4 separate regions of the Homo sapiens genome follow, and all the other regions are linked to region 4. Evidence: promoter capture Hi-C in 16 types of primary human blood cells and fetal thymus (Javierre and others, 2016). All regions are on one chromosome and are shown on one strand. The core of a region is centred on a gene start or on the middle of the fragment in contact, and the rest is flanking DNA. Distances in the headings are between cores, read along the strand shown.

Region 1 (4,054 bases), core at 1,132-3,631, 420 kb after region 4:
AAATTCTGGTTACTTCCTTGTGCGTTGGATACAATCCTCTGACATAGAGAGAAGCTCCCAGCACCTCAGTGACGCAAATGCCCTCCCCTCTCACTCAGTTCTGGGGGCAAACAGCATTTCTGGGGTGGCAGATATATGTGGTCAGACAAGTGTGAGGATATTGATTTGTAATTGAATGATTATTTTTAAAGAACACAAAATACGAAATTCAGAATGCACAAAGTCTCCCTGAGAAGCGAGGCTCCCTGCCCCGCCCCCGCCCCCGCCGCCTGCTGCTGCTTCATCTCCCGGAGCCCCGGCGAGGGGGAAGGTGCCAGCGCCGTGAGGCCAGGTCCCACCTGTGCTCCCACTACCAAGCTACCAAGACCACAGCCATCATCATGGCGCCAACCAAAGTCTCTCCTGCCAGGCGCTGCCTCACTGCCATCCATGGGTGCCTTTCTCGGCGTGGCAGCTCCTGGGCACTGTGCCCTCCAGATTCCTCAGAGCCTGGTGCCAGGTGCACCTCCCCAGCCCTCTCAGCCCCTGAGCTCTGCCACCCTGCCCGGGCTTCTGCCCTTGGGTCCTGGCCTCTCAGGGTCTCCTCAGCTCTGCAAGGAGGGGCTGGGAGCAGGTCCCAGGCTAGCAGTGGGCTGGAGGCCTCCTGTGTGGTCTCTACCTGTCCATGCCGAGGGGTCACCTCTGGGTGAGGTCGCACCCACCCCCCTCACGGGGCTGCTTTGCCAGAAGGTCTGTTCCCCTCATGGCCTCTGCTACTCTTTACACTTAGTTCTTCCCAGGAAGGGCCCGGTGGCTGCAGATAATGTTTCCCATCTGTGGAGCCTTCAAGGGCTGGGCCCATGAGGATTCTGCTCCCAGCTTGCTCTTCCTCTCCAGCCTGCACCCACCAGGCCCCAGAATCCTGAGGATGGAGCTGCTCCTGTCCCCTGAGGTGGTCTAAACCTCTGGGGAGGCACTGGAGGGGCCTCAGGAGCAGCCACTCTTCCGTGTTCTCCCTGGACCTAGAACCCGAGGGGCTGGGAAGAGTGGAATGCATGAGTGTGGCCTTTGAGGTCTTCCTGAGGCCGTGGGGCCTGCCTCGCAGGAAGCATCAGCTTCAGGAAGGCTCTGCACTCAGGGCTGGGCGTGGCCACCCACAGGCACGTAGGGAGCACCTGCTGTGTACCCAGTGCTGCACTGGACTCTGAGACCCAGGGGTGGGTGCCTGAGTACCACCACGTGAGAGCTGCCAGTCTTGTTTCCTTTCTGAGGGGAAACTGAGGAACTCCCGCTTGCCCTCCCCCCCGCCTCATCCTCTGTGTCCCATGTAAAAGGCAGGCATCTGGCTGGACTCCCTCTGGGACACCCACTTTCACCAACTGGCATGGCTGCCTGGCCAGTGCTGGAGAGGGTCCAGCTGGGTCTGGGCTGAGCAGCAGTGAGTGTGGCGATTGATTAGTGATGTCTGCCACATGCAGAGGGATGGGAGGGTGGATGCGAGAGGCAGGAATTCCCCATCTGCCGACTGAGTCCTTTCTTAGCCAGCCCAGCTCTCGCCATCTGCTGTGGTTTGATTGTGTCCCCTCTAACATCAGGTGTTGAAACTCAATGGCCAATGTGGTGGCATTAAGAGGGGCCTTTAAGAGGTGATTGGGCCATTAGGGCTCCTCCTCTCACGACTGGGAGTCCACAGCATTTGGTGAGCTCGCCCACCCTGGCATGAGCATGTCCCCCTCTGAAGGATGCAGCCCTCACCAGACACCAAACCTCGGTCTTGGACTTCCCAGCCTCCAGAATGGTTAGAAAGACATTTCGGTTCTTTGTAAATTACGCAGCCTGTGGTATTCTGTTACAGCCACACTGAAGGACTAGGGCTCCATCATGAGCTGATGGGTGTGGGTGCAGTCCCCCCAGGGCCTGACGGCCTGATCACCAGTTCTTTTTGTTACCAACGGCACCTTCCCAAATGTGTTCATTGATTTCATCGCCCCCATAAACATGCATGGATCAGCACGGGGTGCAGAAGAAAGGTGTATGGGGGGAGGCCCAAAGTTCAGGAGAAGCCAGGCCCAGTGCAGCCAGTGGGAGGAGTGAGAGCAGCCAGCGGAGGCGGACGTGGCCTGTGCATTTGCATGTGGGGCGGCTGGAGGTATCTATGGTGTGAATGGGGGAGGAGCCTAAGGGCTGGGTCTGAGCCGCTGCTGGGCCTCCAGCCTGGGTCTGGGGCTCCCACCCCAACTGCCAGGCTCAGGAGTTCTAAGGAGTGCAAGGCAGGAACCTGCAGTGAGCCCCGCCCCCTTTCTGGAGGCTCCACCATGGCTCCTCACCCGCCCCACCCTGCTGGTCCCGGGCTTCTGAGCGGAGAGGGTGGCCCTTGTCCATTGCAGGCATGCAGGGGTGAGAACGGTCCGAGGGGCTCACAAGGGTGAACTGGGGGCCACGGATGTACGCTCCAGGCTGGGGGCTCAGGCAAGGCCCCAGGGGGCCCCACAGAGCTCCCTGCATAAAATCAGGGGCCAGTGAAGGGGGTCGGCCTCTGTCCCAGCCATATACCCAGAGGTGCAGGATGCAGAGTCTGTAGCCCCCTCTCTGGGGTCTTGGTGCCCCTGCCTCACCTACACTTCCTCTCCTGGTGGCCCCAGACCCCTGGGGTGGGAGCTGACCCGGTGGGAGCACCAGACGGGGTCGCGACACTCACCCCGTGGCCACCGCCAGCAGCGTGGAGAGCTCACCAAGGGTGTGATGGATGGGGGCGCCCATCCTGCAAAGCTGTGACAAATGTGCCTCCCGCTCACAGACTCTCTTTGGAATCCGCTAATACTCCTTGAAGGTGAAGTCCCATTTTTCCCCTGCAATCACAGTATTAAACTTTAATATCTGATATTAATAAAACATACTCTCTCTAATAGAGTCACTCGAGGCCGGGAGGGAGCGCGTGCAGAGGATGGTCCCTGGTGACTGTCTGCAATGTTTTCCCATCCTGGCCAGGTGCTGGGAGTGCTGCGATGCAGAGGGTGGGGGCAGAGTCGAAGGCGGGAAGCTGCCCCACTGGGGCTTCCTGTGCCATCCTCCCCAGGCAGCACCGAGGCTCCCCTGACTCTTCACAGCGGATGTCAGACAAGCAACACAGGTGTCTCTCAGATGGCAGGCAGGGTGCTGCTGCCTCCGGGGGACCAGGTATGGCCCCTCTGCCTCCAGTGGGGAAGGAAACAGGGTCCATGTTTTGGCTGAAGCCCCTTCAGCTAAAGACCCCCCCGGAAAGAGGGAGAGCCCTATTCCCCTCCACCGTGCACCCCGGCACTGTGCTGTAGCCATGCATGCTGCCCTTTTGCAGGATTGCCAGAGAATCGTTTGCCGAGACTGGGGTGCTTTTGAGAGTGGGGGAAGCTGTTCGTTGGCTGGGACAGTGAGTGCAAACTAGGGCCATCCCGGGCATCGGGGCTTCTCCTCATCCCATGCAACTCCACCCCATGTCTCCCTCTGACTGTGCTCAGGGGGCTCCCTCTGCCAGGTCTTCCTGCCTCCCAGCCCCTCACCGCCTCCCCTAGCCCCGTGTCCATGCTACCTATTCCCTGGAACCAGCCTCGGGCTCTGCCTCGGTGTGCCTGTCCTGCTCTTCCTGCCCTCCCTGTGTGTGCCGCCCGAAGGGGACTGTGCTGTGGAGTGGTCAGAGGGCGGGTTTGATGGAGAAGCAGTGGCTCCTGCCCCAGGATCTGGGAGGTGCTGGGGTGAGCAGCGGTGCCGTGGGGCCCCCAGGAGTCTCCGTTCCCACTGCAGGTGTGTTGGGTTGTTTCCCGGCTCTCGGGGCAGGGCTGCGTCGTGTCGTATGTCGCATTCCAGGTGTAAGTCACCAATCACCCTTTCAAAGCGTACAATTCAGTGATTTGTTTTTAGTACAGTTGATCCTCATTCACGGATTCCACATTTACCAATTTGTCTATGTGATGAAAGCTATGGGTGGTCTCCAAATACATACTCCCAGTGCCCTGAGGTCACCCGGACGTGTACCCAGTGCCAAGCAAGCCTCTTTCTCGAGGTCGATTTAGTACGTGTTTCTTGCTTTGTGCGTTTCTTG
Region 2 (3,849 bases), core at 1,229-3,728, 300 kb before region 4:
AAAATTAGCCGAGTGTGGTGGTGGACACCTGTAGTCCCAGCTGCTCGGGAGGCTGAGGCAGGAGAATCGCTTGAACCCGGGAGGTGGAGGTGGCAGTGGGCCGAGATCGTGCCACTGCACTCCAGCCTGGTGACAGAGCGAGACTCCGTCTCAAAAAAAAAAGAAAAAGAAAAAGAAAAAGCTAAGATGCAGCAGGTGGAGCCGCCTGCCGTTGGGTTTCAGCTTTTCTTATGGAAAGAATGTTACGGCCTGGGTGCCTCCATTCTCTGATTTCTTTTTCTTTCTTGACTTTTTAAAATTGAAACAAAACTCCCTAAAACATGAAATCTGAAGCGTTCAACTCCACGAGTTTTTACAAAGCAAACTGCACCGCGTCACATAGCTGATCCGTGTGTAGCTTGTCCTCTGGACGCGGGGCCACCCCCACACCCCGAGGTGACCCCAGGCGTAACCTACCCGTCCCCGGCCTTGGTGCCTGCAGATAGTTTTGCTTGTTTCGAGCTTTTGTCTTGGGATCCGGGGCCATCCACCCTGGGTGTGGCCGCTCAGTCGGGCCCCTGTGTGGGGCTTTCCCGTGGTGTGGGGTGCGGTTCTGCCGTGTCCGTCCCCACTGCGGGGCTGCTCTGCTGGCTGAATTCTCCACGTCTTATGTATCCACCCTCATCTTGCGAGGCACCGGGGTCCCGGCTTTTGGCCACAGACATCCGAGCGCCTTCTGTTGCCCGTGGCGCATCTTTCATGTGGGCACACCCAGGAGTGGAGTTTCCGGGAAACAGACGTTTCCCTCGCGTGGCCGCACCAGGTCGCACTCTGCACTGTGTTTCTGCCTCCAGTTATGTGGGGTTTTCTGCACCCACAGCCACTCTGGCGCCAGCTGGGTGTCCTGTGTTTCCATTCAGCTCTGACATCAATTACCTGACGTTAGCGCAGACCCTGCAGATGAAGGGCTCATTCCCACAAGCCTGCCCCTACTTGAGAGCCAGCTGCAAGTGCCAGGTGACAACCTGGATTCTGACCAACTGGCTGTGAATCGGGGGTGTCCGTGACCCCTTCCTGAGGCTCGGGTGGGCTAGAATAGCTCCCGGAACTCAGGAAAACACTTTGCTTAGTGTACCCGTTTATTAGAAAGGACAGCCACACGGAGGAGCTGCACGGGAGGCTGAGGTATGGGGGGTGCAGAGCTTCCGTGCCCTCTCCAGGCACGCCACCCTCCAGCACCTTGGTATATTCACCAACTCGGACACTCTCCAGACCATGTCATTGAGGGCTTTTTGTGGAGGCTTCGTGACAGGCACGGTTGATTCAACAGCCAGCCACTGCTGATTACCTCAGTCTCTCCTGTCTCCTCTCTGGACCGTGGGCTGTGGGACGGAAAGTTCCAACCCGCTAGGCATTCCTTGGTCCTGCTGAAGACCAGCCGCATCCTGGAGCTGTCCCGGCTCCCGGCTCCCCGTCATCTCATTAGCATGCAAAAAGACACTCTTACCGCACTCCAGGATTCCTAGGGTCAGAGGGGCTGCGCGCTGGGAAACTGAGACAAAGGCTGAATCTGTGTTGATGGCACAGTCACTCTGGGTCGTGTGGGAATTCCCGATGCACCTCCTTCCAGCACATGGACTGTCAGAGCCCTGCGTTGTCGCCAGCACAGCAGATCTGAAAGGCACTAGGCTGTGGCCTCGCGACGGCTGAGGTGAGCTGCTTCTCCGAGGCTCCCGGGTTATTGGGGACCCTCCTTTTAAAGGTGCCTGTTCCAGTCTTTTGCCCCATTTCAAAATTGGGCTGTCAAAGAACAATGTCATTGGGGGGTCCGTCTTTTTTGTTGGTTCCTGGGGGCTGTGTGTGTTTTAGAGACAAGTGCTTTGATTTTTTGTGTTGCAAACAGCTTCTGTCACTCCGCGGCTCGCCTTCCACTCCATGGATGGTGTCTTCTGATGAACAGAAAGTAAAAGCTTACTTTATAATTAGGGCTTTTGCGTCCTGGCTGTGTGTGGGGCCTCTTTCTGGACTGATCTGTCCCCTTTGTTTTTTGCCCCCATGTCGTACTGTTCTGATTTCTTCTGCTTTATAATCACCATTGGTAACTTGTGTTATGAGTCTCCAATTTGGGGTTTTTAGTTTTCAAGGTTATCTTGGTTATTGGCTTTTTACATTTCCATACACATGGGCTTGTTAATAAGCCATTTACAGTTGGCTTATTTGCTTTCAAAATCTCCATAAGACATTTGGATTGCATTTGGATTTCTTGATCAGTATGGGAGATTAGCATCTTTACAATACTGAGGTTTCCAATCCGTGAACATATCTTTAGGCCTTTGATTGGGGTTTTTTTGGCAGGGGAGTTGCGGGGGGCAGACAGGACCTCACTCTTGCCCAGGCTGGAGTGCAGTGGCATGATCATGGCTCACTGCAGCCTTGACCTCCTGGGCTCAAGCAATCCTCCCACCTCAGCCTCCCAAGTAGCTGGGACTACAGGTGTGCACCACCATGCCCAGCTATTTTGGCATTTTTTTGTAGAGACAGGGTCTCCCTATGTTGCCCAGGCTGGTCTTGAACTCCTGGGCTCAAGTGGTCCTTCTGCCTCAGCCTCCTAAGGTGCTGGGATTACAGATGCAAGCCACTGCACCCGGCCTTAAATTCTTTCAATAATATTTTGTAGTCTTGTGTGTAGCGGTCATCCACATTTTTTGTTCAAATGATTCCCTGGTATTTCAGTGCTTATGCTGTTTTAAGCCGTATTACTTTTACAGTTTTTTTTTTTTTATCTTTTTGTTTATAGCAATGTGTAAAGAAGTGTGATTAACTCATTTGTCTTGGCCTCTCCTGGTCCCCGTAGTTTGTCTGTGGTTGCTCCGGAACCTCTCTGTGCGCTGCCATTTTGTCAGTGACCGGCTGTTTGTTTCTGCCTTTCCTTCAGATGTTGCCTTGTTACCCTGGCACTGTTGATCCTTCCAAAACAGTATGGGACAGAAGTGGTGACAGCCACATCCTCTCGTGCCTGATTTCAGGGAAAAGCTTTAAGAATTCCACCATTAAGGGTGCTGTTTGCGGAAATACTGTTTTTCCTTCGTAAATCCCCACCAACAAATTAAAGAGGTTCTATTTTATTCCTAGTTGAAAGTTGTTAATATGAATGGTGCTGAATTTTTTCAGATGCTTTTTTTCCTTCATCTATTGATGTGACAGAACTTTTCTCCTTTATTCTGTTCATACGATGAATTCTATGGATTGGCTCTTAATGGTAGACCGATGGCATTCCTGTAGTGTGCCTCGTTTGGTTGTGATGAGTTCGCCTTTTTATATTTTGCTTGATTCAGTTTGCTATTATTTTGTTTGTTGTTTTTGCAACTGTATTTATGAGAGAGATTAGCCTATTATTTCTTTTTTTTTTTTTTTTGGAGTCTCACTCTGTCACCCAGGCTGGAGTGGAGTTCAGTGGCCCGATCTGGGCGCACTGCAACCTCCGCCTCCCTGGTTCAAGCGATTCTCCTGCCTGAGCCTCCTGAGTAGTTGGGATTACAGGTGTGTGCCACCACGCCTGGTTAATTTTTGTATTTTTAGTAGAGACAGGGTTTCACCATGTTGGCCAAGCTGGTCTTGAACCCCTGACCTTAGGTGATCCGCCCGCCTTGGCCTCCCAAAGTGCTGGGATTACAGGTGTGAGCCACCATGCCTGGCCATATCTTCCTTTTGATTGATGCTTTTATCATCATGAAATGTTTTTGTTTTTTTTTTTTTGAGACAGAGTGTCGCTCTGTCCCCCAGGCTGGAGTGCAGTGGCACCATCTCCACTCACTGCAAGCTCTGCCTCCTGGGTTCACGCCATTCTCCTGCCTCAGCCTCCTGAGTAGC
Region 3 (4,059 bases), core at 1,517-4,016, 380 kb after region 4:
TTTGTAGAGACCAGTTCCCACTATGTTGCCCAGGCTGGTGTCAGACTTCTGAGCTCAAGGGTTCCTCCTGTTTCAGCCTCCAAAAGTGCTGGGATTACAGGCATGAGCCACTGAGGCATGGCTATAGGTATTCTTTATTATCTTTCAATAAAGTTTTATACTTTTTCCATAAAGTCATGTGACTCTTAGAACTTAATCATTTTCTGTCCCTGTGGTAAATGGGACACAGGGCATCTATTTGTTGCTGGTATTTATAAATATAAATAATGTTTTGCATATTTTGTTAAATTTTGCTACAATGTCTAATACCTTTTTGTTGCTTCTTTTGGAATTTCTATATACATAGCTAATCATATTGCCTGGAATAATTATAACTTTGTGACTTCCTTTCTGGTCTTACATGTTCTGTCTTGTTTTCTTACCTTATTGCATTGGCTAGGATCTCTAGCACAATGATGAGTAACTGGGAGAGTGCACAGCCTCCTCGTAATTGATTTTAAATGGAAGGCTTCTGAATTGTCACCATTGAGTATGATATTTATGGTGGGTTTGGGATAGATATTATCTTTTTCAATTAAGTAAGTTTTCTTCTGTTTCTTGATTGTTAAAATTCTGGGAATGTGAAATATTATAAAACAGTTTTTCTGAATCTACTGCAATGATAATATGTTCTTTATTCCATTAATTATTAATGTAGTGAATTATATAATTCTGGAAACATAAAATTTTAAGTTCTATATTATAATATTTGACGAAATGTTGGCTAAAATGCATCAAAACTGATGTTTTGACCTGGTCAGCAGTTATTTCAGCTAACTATTCCTGCATAACCATCCACTGTAAAACTTAGTGGCTTAAAACAACAATCAAGCCTGGGCAACGTGGTGAGACCCCATCTCTACAAAAAAAAAAAAAAATTAGCCAGTTGTGATGGTGTGTACCTATAGTCCCAGCTACTTGGGAGGCTGAGGCAGGAGGACTGCTTGAGCCTGGGAGATTGAGTGCAGTGAGCCATGATCACACAACTGCACTCCAGCCTGGGAGACAGAGCAAGACCCTGTCTCAAAAAGGAAAATCCAACCATTTATATTTGCCCATAATTATTCCTCAGTTTGGGCTGGCCTAAGCTGGACAGTTCTTCTGTTGGTCTTACCAGGGGTCACTCAGGTGGCTGCAGCCATCCAGTGGCTTTACCGGACAAGAGACTCTAAGGTGGCCTCACTCATGTGTCCGGGGCCTTGGTGATGGCTGTCAGCTGAGCCTCTGTCTGTGTGTTCTCTCACTGGTCATGATTCCAGCTTCCTTACATGGCCCTGGGAGAATTCCAAGGTGAAGGTGGAAGCCGTGGGGCCTCTGAGGCTTGGGCTCCTGAAGCACAAGCCATCACTTCTACCATATTCTACTGGTCCCAGCAAGGCACAAGGCCATGCCAGATTCTGTACGGAGAACAGACCCTGCATCTTGCTGGGAGGAAAGCAGGAATCACAGCTATGCTTTGTCACCTTTCCTAGCGCTCTTAATGAAGAACCTTAAACAAATTGGAAGTGGTCATCCCAGTCCTTTGGTAAGACAAACACGTAGGGAGCCATGGTACCTGGATGCTTACTTAGCAGCTACCTTGAGGGAAAGTGGTATTTATTCTGTATCTTGTCCTCATACATCGTGTATCGCTGCATGTCTACTTACTAAAGAGGGCAAAGAAAGTTCCCAGATTATAGAAGGGTTTTGCTACAGTTTGAATGTTTGTTCCCTCCAAAACTCATGCTGAAACTTAACTGCCATTGTAATGGTATTGACAGGTCAGATCTTTGAAGATGATTAGGCCATGAGGGCTCTGCTCTTGTGGGTGGGATTAATGCAAGTTCAGCCCCTTTCGCCTCTTTGCTCTTCTGTCTTGTGCCAAGTGAGGATGCAGCATTCAAGGCGCCATCTTGGAATCCGAATCCCCAAGCCTGTTGGGGCCTTGGTTTTGGGCTTCCAGCGTCCAGAACTGGAGCTCATTCATTTCTACTCATTATGGATCACCCAGCCCGTGGCATTCTGTCACAGCAGCACAAATGGAGCGACTGGTTTGTGCAATGTTTCCAAGGACTTTGGAAAGTAACCTCCAGATGGAAGGTCATTTGTTGCAGGAAACTGCATCTGTAAAAAGTCTGTTATAGGAAAATTCATTTCTTCTCTTCTCATCGTAAGCCATGCTTGTGCTGGTGCTGGCGATGTGGGGAGTCCCTTGACCGAAGTGACTTGGGTCTAATGGATGCACAATTCTTAGGGCAGGTGTTCCCTGTACACACCAGAGCCACGGCAGACACAGACGAGCTTCCGGTGGCCTTCCTGGAGGAGCTGGGTCTTCCCTCACATTCCCCAAGCCTGCAACACTTGGGGGGTTCTGGATTTCTGCAGAGAGCTTTAGTGTGACCCCCACCCACACCCTTAAGTCATGCCCTGCCCCTGCGTGATCATTAAAGTGGAAGGCCCCCTCCCTCCTGGAGCCCCCTTGCTGTGGGCATGGTCCTCACCAGCCCCTGAGTGCCTGTGCTCTGGGCACCCGGGGTCCCCTCCTTCCTCAGAAGCTCACGATTCGGTGTGACTTTGTTGATCATTTTCTGGTAATGCTCAACATATTTGAGCATATTTCCAGAAACAAATTTTCCTGCTCACTTTGCAGCTCTCTCTAACTGGTTCCTGCCCCACCCTCTCGTTGGGGTCACCAAGAACCTCGGCACCACACGCCCAACGCACACTCCTTGTCCTCTCCTTACGGACATTGTGGCCACTCTCAGGGCTGCCTACCTGTCTTTATCTTGCAAACCCCCTTCTCTTCTGGCCCTGATCCGTCACCCCACGGGCTCCGAATTTTCTTCCTTCTTCCTGTCCTCCTGGGCTGCTCCTCCCCAGAAGCACAGTATGGAGGGCGGTTAGGAGCACCCCAGGGGCCAGGTCCTAGCTGCCTGCACTCCGTATGCCCTTGGCAGCCCCGTGTCTCATGGGGATGGTGGCTGCTCTGCAGATTCCATGATTATGCACATCAAACCCATCAAATGGGGCCCACCCACTAGCTGTTCAGTAAACGGCAGCTAATACTGCCATCCTCACCTCCAGATGTCTGCTGGCCTGGGATGGGGGCTGGGGCACGAGGAAAGGGCAGGGAGCCGCAGTGCCTTGCAGGACACTCACGCCAGGGAGGTCCTGTCTGCTCCAGGATGCCTCGTGGCCCCACTTCCTGCCTCTGTCGGGAGCCTTGACTTTCAACCTCTCATTTGCACTGACCCTAAACCCCCCTTTTTCAAACTGAGCTCCTCTCACCTCAGGGCTCACCTGTCTGGCTGCCTAATGACATGAGGCTTGATGGGCTCAAAGGACTGTGTGTAAAGCACTCAGTAGGTGACATTATTCTAAGGGTTTGCTGTGCATGTTTACTGAATCCACACAGCAGCCTTTGGGGTGGAGACGCAGCCTCGTCTCAGGCACTCAGGGATCCGAGGGTGGCAGAGTGCTGGCAGTAGGCTGGGCTGTGGCCCTGGGTGCTCCTCCAGAAGGAAGAGGCAGTGAAGGGACCGGGCAGGAGCAGTGTCTCAAACTGGGGGCGTCTAAACCTCTGACACCCCTTTTCCCATCCGCGCTTCCCTCCACAGTTCAGTTGCTCATCATGAACTCAGAAAACGTTCCTGACCCTCCTTCTCTGTGCCTGTCTCTCCACCATTAAATCTACCCACAATCTCGTCACTTCTAACTCTCAGACATGTGGTTTCTCTGCAACCCTTTCTCCCTGATCTGAATTCCATCAACTCTCTCCTGAACCATTGTCCCAGCCTCCCAGTCTCTCAGCTGCCCAGCATCCAAGCCTCCCAGTCTCTCAGCCTCCCAGCCTCCCAGCCTCTCAGCCTCTTAGCCCCTCAGCTCCCCAGCCTCCAAGCCTCTGAGCCCCTCAGCTCCCCAGCCCCCCAGCCTCCCAGCCTCTCAGCCTCTTAGCCCCTCAGCTCCCCAGTACCCCCAGCCTCCCAGCCTCTCAGCCCCTCAGCTCCCCAGCCCCCCAGCCTCCCAGCCTCCCAGCCTCTC
Region 4 (4,243 bases), core at 1,662-4,161:
AAAGCTATGGGCTTACAAAACTCACGAGCCCCCCGGGGTCATTCTCCCAAACCGCCAAGGACGTGTTCTTCTCAGGGCCTTTCCCGGCTGCTTGCTCTGCCGGTCTGGAAAATGCTCTTCCCTAAGACGTGGTCTTTATCTCTGAGAGCCCCTCACTTCCCAAGATGCTCTGTGACGCAGCCACATCTGTCTCCCGCCCACCGAGCACACTCTCCATGGCGGCAGGATGCCCGGGGCGAGCCCCTCGTAGGGAACCAGGCTGGCACTCGGTGGTCCTTGCTACATGCTGAGCTGGGGTTGGGAGCCTGAGAGCTTCTGTCAACAACTCCCTCTAAAGGGTGGTGACCAGCCTGGGCCACAGACCCACCACTGCTCCACCAGGGCACTGTCACACGGGCACTGCACCCTATGACATGGCTCAGCACTGTGACTCACTGGTGCCACCAGGGCTGGCCACTGAGAAATGGGTCTCAGTGGCACCCGGGGTAAAGTCTTAAACAAAGAACCCCAGGGACACACAAAGGCTGGAAAAGTCGGCTCCCTGCTGGGAGCAGATGCCTCGCCTCCCTCGGAGCAGTACCTCCTGCACTTCCCTGAAGCAACCTCACCCGGGCCAGCTCCAGGAGCTTCTCACACTGCCTGGCAGCCCCCTGGCCACCGTCCCCAGACTTGGTGTGTGTGGCTGCCCTCAGTCCTGAGGTCCCGTGGGAGCTTCTACCTGCAAGTGTGGTGAGGCCAAAGTAGGCCACATCTGAGAGCAGCTCAACCTCCTTCCTCCACTCCAGCCACTTCCTCGCACCTGAGAGGAGAAACAGTATTAGTCCGGGGGAGCTGGTGGGCATCCTCTGAGGATGAGGGACCACAGTCCTCCCCCAGTTGTCTAGGCCCAGATCCAGTCCCACCCCTTCCATGAAGCCAACACTCACTCCCTGGCCTCCCTCTCTGCTTCTGTCTCCGGAGGCACCACCTTGACTTGCCTTAGCGTGAGCTGCAGACAGTCTGCGAAGAATCTCCCACCTGTGCTCATCTCTTGCTCCGGGATTCCCCTGAGCAACTGTTCTAGGGCCTATGAGGGCCACATGGAAAGATGGTCTGGGGTATTAAGATTACAGGCCAGAGGCCAACTGTCTAGCATCAAAAAGCAGCTCTCCAACTTGCTGGCTGTGAGGTCTTTCTGGAATCTCAATTTGCTCATCTATCAGAAGAGTAATAAGTCCTACTTGGAGGGATGTTTGAAGATTCAATATTTGTAAAACACTGGGAACAGTGTCTGGCACAGGGGTAAGTGCCAAGTGTACTGTAAAACAAGTAAGTACACACACAAAAAATTCTCATCATGTCACTCTCCTGTTCAGAATCCACCAATGGCTGCCCACCTGACACCCATGGGCCTCCCGGCACGGAGCCTGGCTGTCCTCTGATATTTACCCATGCTCTTCCTGTCCCATGGCACTGTTCCTTTGGCCACGACACCCCCACCACTGGGCTCTAGTGCCACTGCTCCCTGAAACGTTCTGCTGGGAGTTCATGCCTTTAACGACTGCCTGCCCCACCCCCCAAAGACTTGATGGCTTTGCCTTTTTTTTTTTTTTTTTTTTTTTGAGATGGAGTCTCACTCTGTTGCCCAGACTGGAGTGCAGTGGCACGATCTTGGCTTACTGCAACCTCCGCCTCCCGGGTTCAAGTGATTCTGTCTCAGCCTCCCAAGTAGCTGGGATTACACGCACGCGCCACCACGCCCTGCTGATTTTTGTATTTTTAGTAGAGACGGGGTTTCACCATGTTGTGTAGACTGGTCTCGAACTCCTGACCTCAAGTGATCCACCCGCCTCGGCCTCCCAAAGTGCTGGGATTACAGGCGTGAGCCACCACACCCGGCATCTTTTTTTTTTCGTTTTTTAATCGGTGATGGGGTCTGGCCCCGTCGCCCAGGCTGGAGTGCAGCGGCACAATCATGGCTCACTGCAGCCTCATCCCTCGGGCTCAGGCGATTCTCTTGCCTCAGCCTCCTGAAGAGCTGGGATTACAGACGCCGCCACCACGTCCGGCTAATTTTCAGATTTTTTGTAGAGACGGGGTCTTGCCATGTTGCCCAGGCTGGTTTCAAACTCCTGGGCTCAAGCGATCCTCCCGCCTCTGCCTCCCAAACTGCTGGGATGACAGGTGCTGCTTCATTGAGTACACTGGCTTCTGTACTCAGCTCCCGGCCTGGTGAGGCAGGCAGGGCCTGGCTGAGCCTACACTGGGGTCAGCAGGGCGAGGGGCCTGGGCTGCTGCTCAGGCCTAGGAAAGGCCGGGGTCAGTGTGAACCGGACCGAGGTATGAGGCGTTCGCGCCGCGGGCGCTCTGACCCCTCTGCTCACAGGGGAGGATCGGAGGGAGGCTTGAAGCACTTGCCAAGGCCTCACACCTGGAGGGGACAGAGTCTTCCCCAGCCGCTGGCGTCAGCTGGACCTGCCCTGAGCTGGGGACGGGAAGGGCTTGGGCGGGAACTGGAGGCCCACGCAGGTCCCCCGCGGTGTCTGCGGCCTGTGCCTCTGGGGCCACCTGGCCAGGGAGGGCAGGAGGTGCCCCGCACATCCCTGAATGGCCGCAGGGCAGGCGAAGGAGACTGCCGGGTCCCAGGTTGTGGGACGGGCCCAGGCGACCGTGACCACACACGGCAGACACCCCGCCTCCATGAGGGGCAACACCCCCTGGGCCGCTCGCGAGGACGTCCGGCCGCGCCCGGCCCTCACCCGCCAGGCTGTGCAGGGCGCCGCCCGCCGCGCTCCGCAGCCCACCGCGGTAGTACTCGTCCTTCTGCGCCGCGCGGATCACCTCCGGGGGGCTGGCGGCGGCCGGGGCCATGGCCGCGGGTTCGGGTGGTCCCGAGCAGCCACGCCGGCCACGCCCACGCCCAGACGGGCGAGAACTGATGACGGCACGACGTGGCTCTGCGTGCGGCGCAGACCTCTGCGTCAAGGTGCTGGGGCGGGGCCGGACTGGGGCTGGAGGCGGGGCCAGGGCCCGGGCGGAAGCGGGGCTGGAGTCCGAACCAGCGCAGCGCGGGGCGGGGCAGCGGGAAGGTAGTCGGAGGCGCAGGGCGGAGCGGAGCGGGGCGGGGCCCGCGAGCCGAGGTGGGGGCGGGGCACGCGCGAGGGGCGCTGGCGAGGCAGCGGGATGGGCTCGCGGCCGCGTGGTTGCTGCGACCTCGGGGTCCTACGCTGCCAGGGGCCCCTGCTCTGCTCCCTGCACGTCCACGGGCCGCCCTCCCACTGGGGACAGCGCTGCGGAGTGGAGACGCTGCAGGCCCATTTACGGCTGGGGAGACGGAGGCTTTCGCTTGGGTCTTCGGGAAGCCGAGCTCCCAGCGCCGGCCGCGGCGGTCCCGCCCTCGCGCCCTTTGAGCTGCGCGGGCTCTCAGCGCGGGTTGGCCAGTTCCGGGGAGCCGGTCGGTTTGGGGGCCAGAGGGGCACGAGGCGAGACCCGGGACCTTCCAGGCCCCGAGCAGCCGCCTTCCCCAGTAATCCTGCGCGAAAAGCACACGGCCGGCTTGGTGTGGACGCCCCCCTGGTGCCCACGGGAGGCAGGGCCTGGCGGGTGGGGGGCAGCCGGGAAGCCGCCGCGTGGTTCCAGGACGGGCGGAAGGTGGCCTTCCACCCTCCACCCTCCACCCTGCCTGGCCTGAGCCCCGCAGGTGCTCTGGGGAACCACATCGCAGGCGCTCCGATCCCTCTGCTCCCAGGGGACGAGCGGAGGGAGGCCTGAAGCACTTGCCAAGGCCGCACACCTGGAGGGGACAGAACCTTCCCCAGCCGCTGGCCACAGCTGGACCTGCCCTGAGCTGGGGGTGGGAAGGGCTGGGGCGGGAACTGGAGGCCCACGCAGGTCGCCTGCGGTGTCTGCGGCCTGTGCCTCTGGGGCCGCCTGGCCAGGGAGGGCAGGAGATGCCTGGTACATACCTGAATGGCTGCAGGGCAGGTGAAGGAGAAGGCCCTGTTTTTTGGCCCCAAGGGCAGCACTTGGCCCTGGAGAGTCCTGCAGGATTGCAGGAGGAAGGCAGGGCACGACAAGGGGGCGTCTGCGCCCCGCTGACCTCAGTGGGGAGGGCCTCCAGTTCCTTGCCTCACCTCTGGTTCCATCTACAGGAGCTCAGCTGTGGGATCATCCCCAGACTGGCACAGCCCAGTCACAAAGCCAGAGCCCCACACTGCAGGAATGGCCCCTCTTACAGGGAAGGGGCATGGCCTGGGTGGCCCCG

Evidence for each region. Contacts are between HindIII fragments. The CHiCAGO score rates a contact against its expected background, and 5 or more counts as called.
Region 1: a contact is called between a fragment that was not itself captured here and the fragment with the promoter of PEX10 in region 4, in 2 of 17 cell types (naive CD4 T cells and naive CD8 T cells). The highest score is 5.3, in naive CD4 T cells.
Region 2: a fragment that was not itself captured here is called in contact with the fragment with the promoter of PEX10 in region 4 in 1 of 17 cell types (neutrophils); the score reaches 5.0 in neutrophils.
Region 3: a contact is called between a fragment that was not itself captured here and the fragment with the promoter of PEX10 in region 4, in 11 of 17 cell types (M0 macrophages, megakaryocytes, naive CD8 T cells and 8 more). The highest score is 7.8, in M0 macrophages.

The regions. Positions count from the first base shown.
Region 1 is chr1:2,830,607-2,834,660 of GRCh38, forward strand. No RefSeq gene overlaps it. Among named protein-coding and RNA genes, the nearest start is that of TTC34, 31 kb to the left of the region's middle. The HindIII fragment of the contact is 6,524 bases long and covers 1-4,054 here.
Region 2 is chr1:2,114,621-2,118,469 of GRCh38, forward strand. The region is part of intron 4 of PRKCZ (protein kinase C zeta); the gene reads left to right. Among named protein-coding and RNA genes, the nearest start is that of PRKCZ, 66 kb to the left of the region's middle. The HindIII fragment of the contact is 1,063 bases long and covers 1,948-3,010 here.
Region 3 is chr1:2,794,185-2,798,243 of GRCh38, forward strand. The region is part of intron 2 of TTC34 (tetratricopeptide repeat domain 34); the gene reads right to left. Among named protein-coding and RNA genes, the nearest start is that of TTC34, 5.5 kb to the right of the region's middle. The HindIII fragment of the contact is 5,722 bases long and covers 1-4,059 here.
Region 4 is chr1:2,409,653-2,413,895 of GRCh38, forward strand. PEX10 (peroxisomal biogenesis factor 10) reads right to left here and starts at 2,912. Exons shown (of 6, transcript NM_002617.4): 1 at 2,739-2,912; 2 at 719-799. The coding sequence starts at 2,850. RefSeq lists enhancers at 1,559-2,139, 2,140-2,720, 2,721-3,301, 3,302-3,881 and silencers at 2,498-2,877, 3,038-3,637. The HindIII fragment of the contact is 16,041 bases long and covers 1-4,243 here.